Linked DNA regions of Homo sapiens: region 2 is linked to region 1. Evidence: promoter capture Hi-C in 16 types of primary human blood cells and fetal thymus (Javierre and others, 2016). All regions are on one chromosome and are shown on one strand. The core of a region is centred on a gene start or on the middle of the fragment in contact, and the rest is flanking DNA. Distances in the headings are between cores, read along the strand shown.

Region 1 (5,074 bases), core at 2,211-4,710:
TGCTCTGTACTTCATCACTCTGGGACTCAGTCGGAAGCAGCAGCCACTGCTTGGAACGTTAGTGGTCATGGTGGGGGAAGAAAGAGAGAATGCAGAAAACTGCAGCAGGTGCTTCAAACTTCTTCCCACTGACGCAAGCAAATCACATGGCCACACCTGACTTAGAGAGGGCTCATGAAAGGGCCACCCTATTACCTGCCATCCAACCTGTTCCCAGAAGGAGAGGAGAACCAGGATGCCTACAAATAGCCCTAATTATCACCCCATTCTGTGCTCTGCGTGGCAATGCTGCCAGTCCTATAGATAGGTTTTTGGCTAAATGAGCTTAAGTTTTTCATTTTTACTCTAACATATGCATTTAAGGCTATAAATTTTCCACTGATTTGGCTGCATGCAGTAAATTTGATAGCCCCATTATTTCATTAGGGGTTACAAAATGATGAGTTTCTAATTCTATGATTTCTTCTTTATTTATAAACTGGAATACTTCCTCTAATTTTGTTACCATAAGATAGAGTTTGTCTGTCAGAGATAGAATAAGTGCCTGATTATTTTCCTTTACTTAGTCATCTTTAAAATAATGAACTGATTCCTAGAATCCTCTAAAGGCAACTAAGTTTTACAGTTTGCATAGGATCTGTATTATTATTTTTTGTGTATGATTACTCACTCCTAGTTTAAACATATTTGATGTGTATCAGTCCATTTAAGAAATTGGTGTTCAGGTTGTCCCAAGTCTGTCTACAGAGAGTTTCTCTAGGTTTGCCTCTCACCATTTTTTTTTTCTTTTTTCTGAGACAGAGTTTTGTTCTTGCTGCTCAGGCGGGAGTGCAATGGCGCCACCTCAGCTCACTGCAATCTTTGCCTCCCAGGTTCAAAGGGTTCTCCTGCCTCAGCCTCCCATGTAGCTGGGATTACAGGCATGCACCACCACACCCAGCTAATTTTTTGTATTTAGTAGAGACAGGGTTTCACCATGTTGGTCAGGCTGGTCTCGAACTCCTGACCTCAAGTGATCCACTCGCCTCAGCAGCCATGCACCACCACACCTGGCTAATTTTTTGTATTTAGTAGAGACAGGGTTTCACCATGTTGGTCAGGTTGGTCTCGAACTCCTGACCTCAAGTGATCCACTCGCCTCAGCCTCCCAAAATGCTGGGATTACAGGCATGAGCCACCTTGCCCGGCTGACTCTTTAGTTCTTTTGATGTGACTGCATTAGTCTTAGTTATCATCTCTGCTTTCTGGGATAACAAGATGTTCTAGATTTGTCTTGTTCGCTTCCAGCCCATTCACCAGAGAAGCCAGGTTCCAGGTAGATACAATAAATAGCATTTGAAGATAACAAACAGTCTTGGTGCTAGGAGTGTTCACTGCTACAGGATGGCTCATTATTTCTAAGTCTTCCAATGGAGGAGGAAACTATTTTTATTTGGATAAAAAACATCATGATTTCATATCGATATATCTAATTCAAATTCAGGATGACAAGGTTTTTACTTAACCTCATCAGTTCCACACCAAAAATTCTAGTTCTGATACCAACCTAATTATGCATTTGCTTTTTCCATACAGCATTCACAGCAGAATAACGACACCACTGCTGCCACCATGACTACTAAAAATAGCTTAGGAATTTTATTTTTGTGTTCTTTCTATGCTTAGGACATATCCCACCAATAAATTGCTGTGTTTCCAAATAACTTGAAATAATTCAACTCTATTAATATTGCCTTTTTTTTTTTTTGACGGAGTCTTGCTCTGTCGCCCAGAATGGAGTGCAGTGGCGCGACCTCGACTCATCACAACCTCCCCCTCCCAGGTTGAAGCCATTCTCCTCCCTCAGCCTCCGAAGTAGCCAGGATTACAGACACGTGCCACCACACTCAGCTAATTTTTATATTTTTAGTAGAGACAGGGTTTCACCATGTTGGCCAGTCAGGTCGCAAACTCCTAACCTCAAGTGATCCGCCTGCCTCGGCCTCCCAAAGTGCTGGGATTATAGGCGTGAGCCACTACGCCCGGCCCTTTCAAAATTCTTAAAAAGCAATATTGGCTTGGTGCTAGGAGTGTTTATTTACAGAGGCAACAGGCTGTGTAACAACAAAGACAATCAGAGTAAGTTGGTTACAAAAACTTCCCAAAGGAAGATGGCAGAGGCCTGGACCAGGGAAAGGAGGCAAGTCTGAACTCCCCAGAGTTTTCAGCAGCCTCTTCTGCTTCTGTGGCCCTGGCCTGAGGAACAGTCCTGTCTCCATCAGATCAATAGCTGGAAAGACCTAGGAAGAGAGGGGTTCTGAGAAAAGAGGGGTCAGCCAGGAAGGAGATGAGAGGCAGAGGAGACAGCCAGCCCCATCCTAGCACCTTCCAGCAACATCAGCATCAGACCCACGCAGTCCGAAACACAACAAGAACAAGAAAACAATAGCCATAGCCATAGTAATGACCCCGAACAACAGAGAAATCAGCAAGATATGTGTTTCAGTTTGTCGGCATGGTATTTTTATTAGTTTGCAACTTTTCATTTAAGATAAAGCAGAGTGTTGGACAGGCAAAGCCACTCCAAGGAAGCCTCTTAAACGCCCACCTTGTTGCAGGTGGGACACTCATGCCCAGCTGCTCCAGCTGGAAAAGACAGGACTTCAAGTGGGTTCAGGAGCTCAGGCCTCTGAATACACAAGCAAAGGCAAGGCTAGCGGGTGAGGGGTGATTCAGCCGCAGTTGCAGTTGACTTGGGAAGAGAATTTGTTAGGAGGGAATGGACATTAATTAGGGTGGACTCTCCTTAGGAAAAGGCAGGCAGATATGGCTTCATCTTATAGTGAGGAATGGACCCTGAGCAGTGGTTTGGGGCTCAACGATGAAGGACAGGTCACAGCTTCGGAAAATGGGGTTAGCAGGACTCACATGAGACCTGAGTCCAGAGCCTCAGATCTTACACTGGCAGCACACGGGGACACAGCAGCTAGACTGGGAGCAGCAGGGATTGCAGCAACTGGACTGGCAGCAGGATGACCCACAGCCTGAGGAACAGCAGCAGGGCTTACAGCAGCTGGACTGGCAGCAGCAGGGCTTACAGCAGCTGGACTGGCAGCAGGATGACCCACAGCCTGAGGAGCAGCAGCAGGGCTTATAGCAGCTGCACTGGGAGCAGCCACAAGAACCACAGCCCCCCTTAGAACCCCCACAAGAGCCACAGCCCCCCTTGGAGCCCCCACAGGAGCCACAGCCTCCCTTGGAGCCCCCACAGGAGCCACAGCTGGAGCAGGAACAGGCTGGCACACAGCAGCACACGGGCTTGCAGCAGCAGACGGGCACACAGCAGCTGGAGCCACATCCCCCACAGCCAGAGCCACAGCCCCCACAGCCGGAGCCACAGCCCCCACAGCCGGAGCCACAGCCTTCGGAACAGCCACAGCAGCCCATGGTTCTGGTGGATTGAGGGTGGAGCAGGTAGAGGAGCAGGTGAGAGGGAGGTGCAGGTGTGGAGCCCCCTGAGCCCGGGCTCTTTATATACCTGTCCAGAGGTCAGGCACAATACAGGGTCGCTTCCTTGTGACTGTTTACGCTATTTTTCCAGAGCTCTATTTTTTTTCCTCTTTGCTAGTGACTTCCTCCTGGCTCAGTTGAGCATCTACTTTCTTTGTTTACTAAATTTGTCTTTTTCCCTATTTGTTTTGGCCCCTACAATTGAAACCTCAGCTCCAGGCTGTCTGGTGCTTCCCGCAAAGCTCCAGGGTGCTGGTCACCTGCTCTCTGCTGACCACATGTGACCAATGGGCAACAGCCTTTGCCCACGTGCTCTCATCTTTCCTGTGTTGACTCCCCCAGGAATATTAATTTCACATTTTTAGATTTCAAAATTATCCATGGTCTTTATATTTTACTCATGCCATTCTCAGTTTTGCATTGCTCTAAAGAAATACTTGAAGCTGGGTAATTTATAAAGGAAAGGTTAGAATGGCTCATGGTTCTGCAGGCTGCACAAGCATGGCACCCACCTCTGCTCAGCTTCTGGGCAGGCCCTCAGGGAGCTTTTCCTCATGGTGGAAGGTGAAGCAGGAGCAGGCTCACCACATCGTGAGAGTGGGAGCAAGGGGTGAGGAGGGGCCACACACTTGCGAACAACCAGATCTGAGTGAACACACTCATCACCAAGGAGATGGCGCTAAGCCAGTCATGAGGGATCCGCCCCCATGACCTAAACACCTCCTTGCAGGCCCCTCCTTCAACACTGGGGATTACATTTCGACAAGAGATTTGGAGGGGACATCCCAACTGTATCATTATCCCCTTGACCCCTCAAATCTCATGTCCTTACATTGCAGAATAGAATCATCTCTTCCCAACAGTCCTCTCAATGTCTTGACTCATTCCAACATCAAGTCCAAAGTCCCAAGTCCAAGTCCCTTCCACCAATGAACTTGTGAAAATCAAAACACATTATTTACTTTGAAGATACATGAGGGTGGAGGCATTGGGTAAACATTCCCATTCCAAAAGGGAGAAATCAGCCCAAAGGAAGGGGCTACAGACCCCATGCATGTCTGAAATCCAGCAGGGCAGCCATTAAATCTTAAAGCTCCAAAATAATGTCCTTGGACTCCCAGTCCCACATCCAGGGTACACTGGAGTGAGGGGTGGGCTCCTAAGGCCTTGGGGAACTCCACCCTTGTGGCTTTGCAAGGTTCGCACCCTGCAGCTGCTCTCATGGGTTGGAGTTGTGTGCCTGCAGCTTCTCCATGCTCAAGATGTAAGCTGCCAGTGGCTCTACCATTCTGGGGCCTGGAGGATGGTGTCCTCCTCCCCACAGCTCAATTAAGCAATGCCCCAGTGGGGACTCTGTGTGGGCCTCCTACTCCACATTTCCCCTCTACACTGCCCTAGTATATATCCTCTGTGCGGGCTCTGCCCCTGCAGCAGGCTTCTGCCTGAGTGCCCAGGCTTTCTCATAAATCCTCTGCAATCTAGGTAGAGGATCCCAAGCCTCCTTCACTCTTGTATTCTACGCACCTACAGGCTTAACACCACATGGGAGCTACCAAGGCTTATGGCTTGCACCCTCTGAAGCCAG
Region 2 (4,703 bases), core at 1,275-3,774, 270 kb after region 1:
TTCATGGTTCAGGTTGGACAAGAAAAAAAGACAAGATGACCAGATGGAAAAGCTTACTCCTTTCTGCAAAACCTGGTGAATCCTGGAAGGCAGCTTCCAGAAACAAAACCGGAGGGTTCTGAAACCAGGAAGCCAGGAGGGTCATGTCTTCTTTTCCTAAACTGAACCTAAAACAAGGCACTTGGTGGTGTGTGTGGCTATGGGCCCCCCAGAAATTAGAATGCCAAAAGAGGTCCTACTTCAAATGAGCGGCGGGGGGTAGGTGTTCCCCTCAACCTGAGATGCCCGCTCAGAGCGTTAAGATGTGAATAAAGGCACTGTGGCAGCATTATCTGACCCTGAACCTTTTCATAAGAGCCTTTTTTTTTGGCTGTCAATACTTTTAGTTGACACATAATTGTACGTATTTATGGGTCCAGTGTGAGATGTTGATACACGTATGCAATGTGTAATGATCAAATTAGGGAAATTAGTGTATCCATCACCTGTAACCTTGATTTTCTTTGTTTTGGGATCATAAGAGATTTTTACAGACTTGAAGGATGTTGCTTCATCGGAGCACAAGGCTGAACTGGATATCTCTAAACAGACACAAAGAAACTGGGGCGTAAGCAGGATGCTGTCCTTAAAATGCCGAATGTCGGGGCTCTCACACAGCGCTCTTGTTGGCTAACAGATCAGAAAGACTGGAGGGGGATGGCCCAAGGGGTGTCCACTTGGGTGGAAGGCTGGCAGAGGCCTGCGTCCCTAGGGAAGTATTTCTTGGAGATAGCATAATGGCATCGGTCTTAAACCTTGCATGGAGATAGCCGAAAAATGTTCACAATTGAACTGTGACCAGCTGCCTGGTCTATCTGCAGCAGTGGTTCTAGAAACCTAGGAAGGGGTGTTCCAGGGGTGGGAATCTGGTGAGAGGAGGGAAATATCCTGAGGATAGGTCTTTGAGCTGGGTTTGCAGGGTAAATACACCACTTTATTCAGATGACTTGCCTTCTTTGGTGGGGAGGGTACTGATGGACTGTTATGGAAAGGTAGAGCCCCCACCCCCACTCCCTGCAACCCAGGTCTTGCATCTGCCACCGGCCAACCCAAAGAACATCCGATTGTCCTGCTCACACCTCTCCCAGGCACCCCAGCTTCCATGCCAAACAAAGGATGCCTGCAGGATCCTGTCAGGGCGTCCTTCTTCCTGTTTTGGGGATTATTATTTTTTGATTGATTGACTCCTTTATTCATTCAACAAATATTTTATCAAGTGTATGCTTAAGGAAGCAGCGACGAGAAAGACATTTACATAAGGCAGCTGCCCTCAAGGAGTTACAATATTTATTCCATGTGTGTCCTGAAATATTCAGGCCCCAAACACAACTTTTTTTTTTTTAACCTAAGTGCTTTTAAAGACTTCTTTGAAATGTGGGACAATTATGCAAGCTGAAAAAAAAAAGTATCTAGAGCAAATATTTAACTTTGCCTTTGGTATGTTGAAGTCACCAGCCCATGCAAACCTCTCAGGCATGTCCTGTAAGATAGACTGACTTACACACACACACACACACACACTCACTCTATGTAGGGGGCACAGTTAGGGGTTTGCATAATGCCGGGCTCCAGGGTTCTGGAGACAGTTCTACTCCACAGCTTGGACTCTGATCCCCACCCACACCTTCCAGAATACTGGAAAACTCAGAACACAGAGACCTCAAGAGCTTACTCAGAAACACGCAGCTCGTACTGGGGGAGACTCCCAGTGAATGATTAAGGCCTTGAGAAAATCTATCAGCCGATGGCTCACACGGCGGCCACAGCTCCAAGCTCAGGACCCGCCCCTTTGGGCTTCCGCAAACCTAGCAATCCGGAGTCCTGGATAATAACAGGATTCCTGGAGTCTCCGGAGGGTGCCTTTGGCCTCTGGGATTCACCCGAGCCGTTGGCTTTTGCTCCCCCCACCCCACCCCCTGGCTTTTCTTGGCTTGGAGGGCAGCTGGCGGAGATACCGTTGTGCACCCCTGGGCGGAAGGCGCCCCAGAACTGGTGGCCTGGGCAGCAGACGCCGGCGTATCACCCGGGTACAAAGTTTTCGTTTGCTCTGCAAACGTTTTGATGTGCAGGCAGCCTCTATTTCCAAATCCTATTATTATAAATACTCTGTGGCGGGAGCCAGCTGCGTTCGGGATAACCGTGCAGACCGAACCGGACTTTACAAAAATCAGGGACTTTCTCGTCCGCCGGCTTTGGCCAGGGAGGGGGAGGTCCGTGAGCCACGCAGCCCGGGGCGGGGCAGAGGCGGCCAGGGCGCCCCGCGGTCTCCCGGGGTTGCCACAACAGACCCCACGCGCACGCCCGAGCCGCAGCCGCGGGCGGGAGCGGGGTCGGGGCGGGGGACTGAGGTCCGCGGCGTGGGCGGGGGTGGGGGTCCAGGTCGGGTCGCCCGCGGGTCCTGGGCCGCACGCGTCCTTTCGGCGGCGAGAGGGCCCCTCCCCCACCCTCGCCGGAGCCAGCTCCCGCGCCGGGCGGGGCCGGGTCCTTCCCCACCCCCTGCACCTGAGCCGCGGCGGCGGCTCCTGAGCTCCGGCGGGGCTGGGCGCGGCGCCGCTCGGGTTCCCGCGGCCGATCCAGGTGTGCGCGGACGCTGGCGCTCCCGGGGGGCTCGGACCCGCCCCCGACTCGCCGAGCCAGGTGAGGCGGCGGCCGGGGACGCAGGGCGCGGGCCGGGGAGGACGGGAGGTGGCCCTTGGGCACCCGATCCTGCTCACTGACGGCATTTTGGGGGCATCTCGATTCCGGGAGCACCAACTACCGGGTAAGCGCAGTCCTGGACCCAGAGAGGCTGGAGAGGTGGGCGCTGGGGGGAGTGAGCCGCGTGTCCAGGTGGGGGTCGATTTTCCGTAGAGAGCCCTTCCCCCTGCATGCCTTTCTTCCCGGGCAGGGGCCGGTGTCGAAAGCTTTGGAAGCGGCGTGGGGGCAGAGCGCAGGAAGGAGCCCCCGCTTTATCTCCTGCGCGCATGGACCACGTAGTCTCTGGCGCGTCCTGCCCCTTCCTCTGGAACAGCGCGTGTGGCGCGACCTCCCCCGCTCTCCCGGGGTCTCCTTGCCCCGGGTCACCGCCCGCCAGCCCTAGGACCCGGGCCAGCGAGCCCAGCGGAGGAGCCGGCGCGGGGCCGCCAGGTGGCGCGCGGGGGCGGAGACCCGAACCGTGGCCGCCAGGTCCCCCGAGACCCCGCTGCGGTCACCCTGGCCCTGCACGCAGAGCTCCCATCCAGGCGCGCGCGGCGGCAGCAGCAGCTGTCGCGGAGAGGCCGGGGCCGGCGCGCCTGGTGCGGGCCCGGGGGTGGCGGGTCGGGCGCCCAGGTCCCGGGGGTCGCGCTGAGCCACAGCCGGGTGCCCGACCCCGGCCCGCCGTGCTCACCAGCTGGGATAGGGAGACCCGGCGGGCGCAGCCCGGCCGCCACCGTCCGTGAATTATGCAGGAAGCTGGCACCGGCGCGCTCGAGTTGATCAAGTTTCCCTGGCAACTTTCGCCCGGGCATCCCTCCTCCCCGGCGGCCGGGCAGCTCCGCCCGCCCAGCCCGCGGCCCAGGCGCCTCCACCGGGTGGCCCCGGCCCCGGGCGCCAGGCGCGGGGACCGCTCCCAGAGACGCCGACAGCGCACTCGTCACTTGGGCTGGAGCCGCCGGACTGAGCCAGCAGGTGCGACCACCGCAGCGGGCCTCGCCGCCCGGGTTCGGGGGGATGCGGGGGCTGGGGTGGACCTCGCCGCCAGGGTTCTGGGGCTTGGCGTGGGGGTGCAGCGCGGCGCCCTCCAGGCGGGTCTGCGTGCGGACACCCTGCTCGAGGTGGGTGGGCGCGTGGGCGAGGCTTGCCTTTCCGTGGGGCTGGAGCACCCAGAGGGAGAAAGGGTGGTGCAGGTGACCGTGGGTTTTCGCAGCCGATCTTTTAAAGGGGCTCGGGGCGCCTGGAACTGAGAAGGCGCTCGAGCCAGGCAGGTGAGGGGTGGGTGGTGGGGGGGTCAGGCGAAAGTACGTAAGGCTCTCGGGGGCTGGCAGCTGCTGGCAGGGGCCTGGGCGTCCTCAGAGGCCATCCGAAAATAAAGTGGTTTTCGGGTGGAAATTCGAGGTTGTAAATTGGATAGTTGAGTGACCTCTTTTTCGTTTGAAACTCAAGTTCGAACGTTAATGAGGCCAATCAGCTAATTAAGCTTCCAGATCCAGAGAGGTAATTTCGGAAGTCCCCCGGTGGGGGAGGGCGATTTGATCTCTATCTGGGATGTGGGCCTCGGTTTTGCCGACCCAGCCACAAGGGAAGTTCTGCGCCCCTGGAAAAGGACCTGGCAGATTCAGCCTTAACCCCGGTGCCCTGCGGTCCGCATCACATAGTTAGTGACGCCCTTCTGTGCACTAGGAACCGAGCCTGGTGCCCCAGAGGGTTCAGCAGGTCCAGAACAGCCCCGGGCCGATTGCTTTTGGAGTTTTCCAACTACTTGTGGGTTGGAAACAAGGTTGAGGGTCCTAATAGGGTTGAGCCTGTGGGGGTGGAGTGAGGAGAGCGAGCTCGGCCCCCATCTGGGTTCAGTGTTAATTCTGAGGGAAAGCCGTCGTGTCTGCTCTAAGAGGGGGATTGGTAGGTGGGAGCTGTGGGTTTCTATGCCGGATGTCACTGTCCTCTGAGGGGGCTTGAGGGAGACTCTTGTCCTGATAGGAATCTGG

What was found. The method cuts DNA at HindIII sites, captures the fragments that hold promoters and counts their contacts. A CHiCAGO score of 5 or more calls a contact.
Region 2: the fragment with the promoter of SHANK2 here is called in contact with the fragment with the promoter of KRTAP5-7 in region 1 in 9 of 17 cell types (total B cells, non-activated CD4 T cells, total CD4 T cells and 6 more); the score reaches 7.4 in total B cells.

Annotation. Positions count from the first base shown.
Region 1 is chr11:71,525,653-71,530,726 of GRCh38, reverse strand. It overlaps KRTAP5-7 (keratin associated protein 5-7), which reads right to left and starts at 3,460. Exons shown (of 1, transcript NM_001012503.2): 1 at 2,058-3,460. The coding sequence starts at 3,426. The coding sequence ends at 2,929. RefSeq lists enhancers at 2,571-3,070, 3,071-3,572. The HindIII fragment of the contact is 23,305 bases long and covers 1-5,074 here.
Region 2 is chr11:71,250,398-71,255,100 of GRCh38, reverse strand. It overlaps SHANK2 (SH3 and multiple ankyrin repeat domains 2), which reads left to right and starts at 2,524. Exons shown (of 26, transcript NM_012309.5): 1 at 2,524-2,676. The HindIII fragment of the contact is 2,890 bases long and covers 55-2,944 here.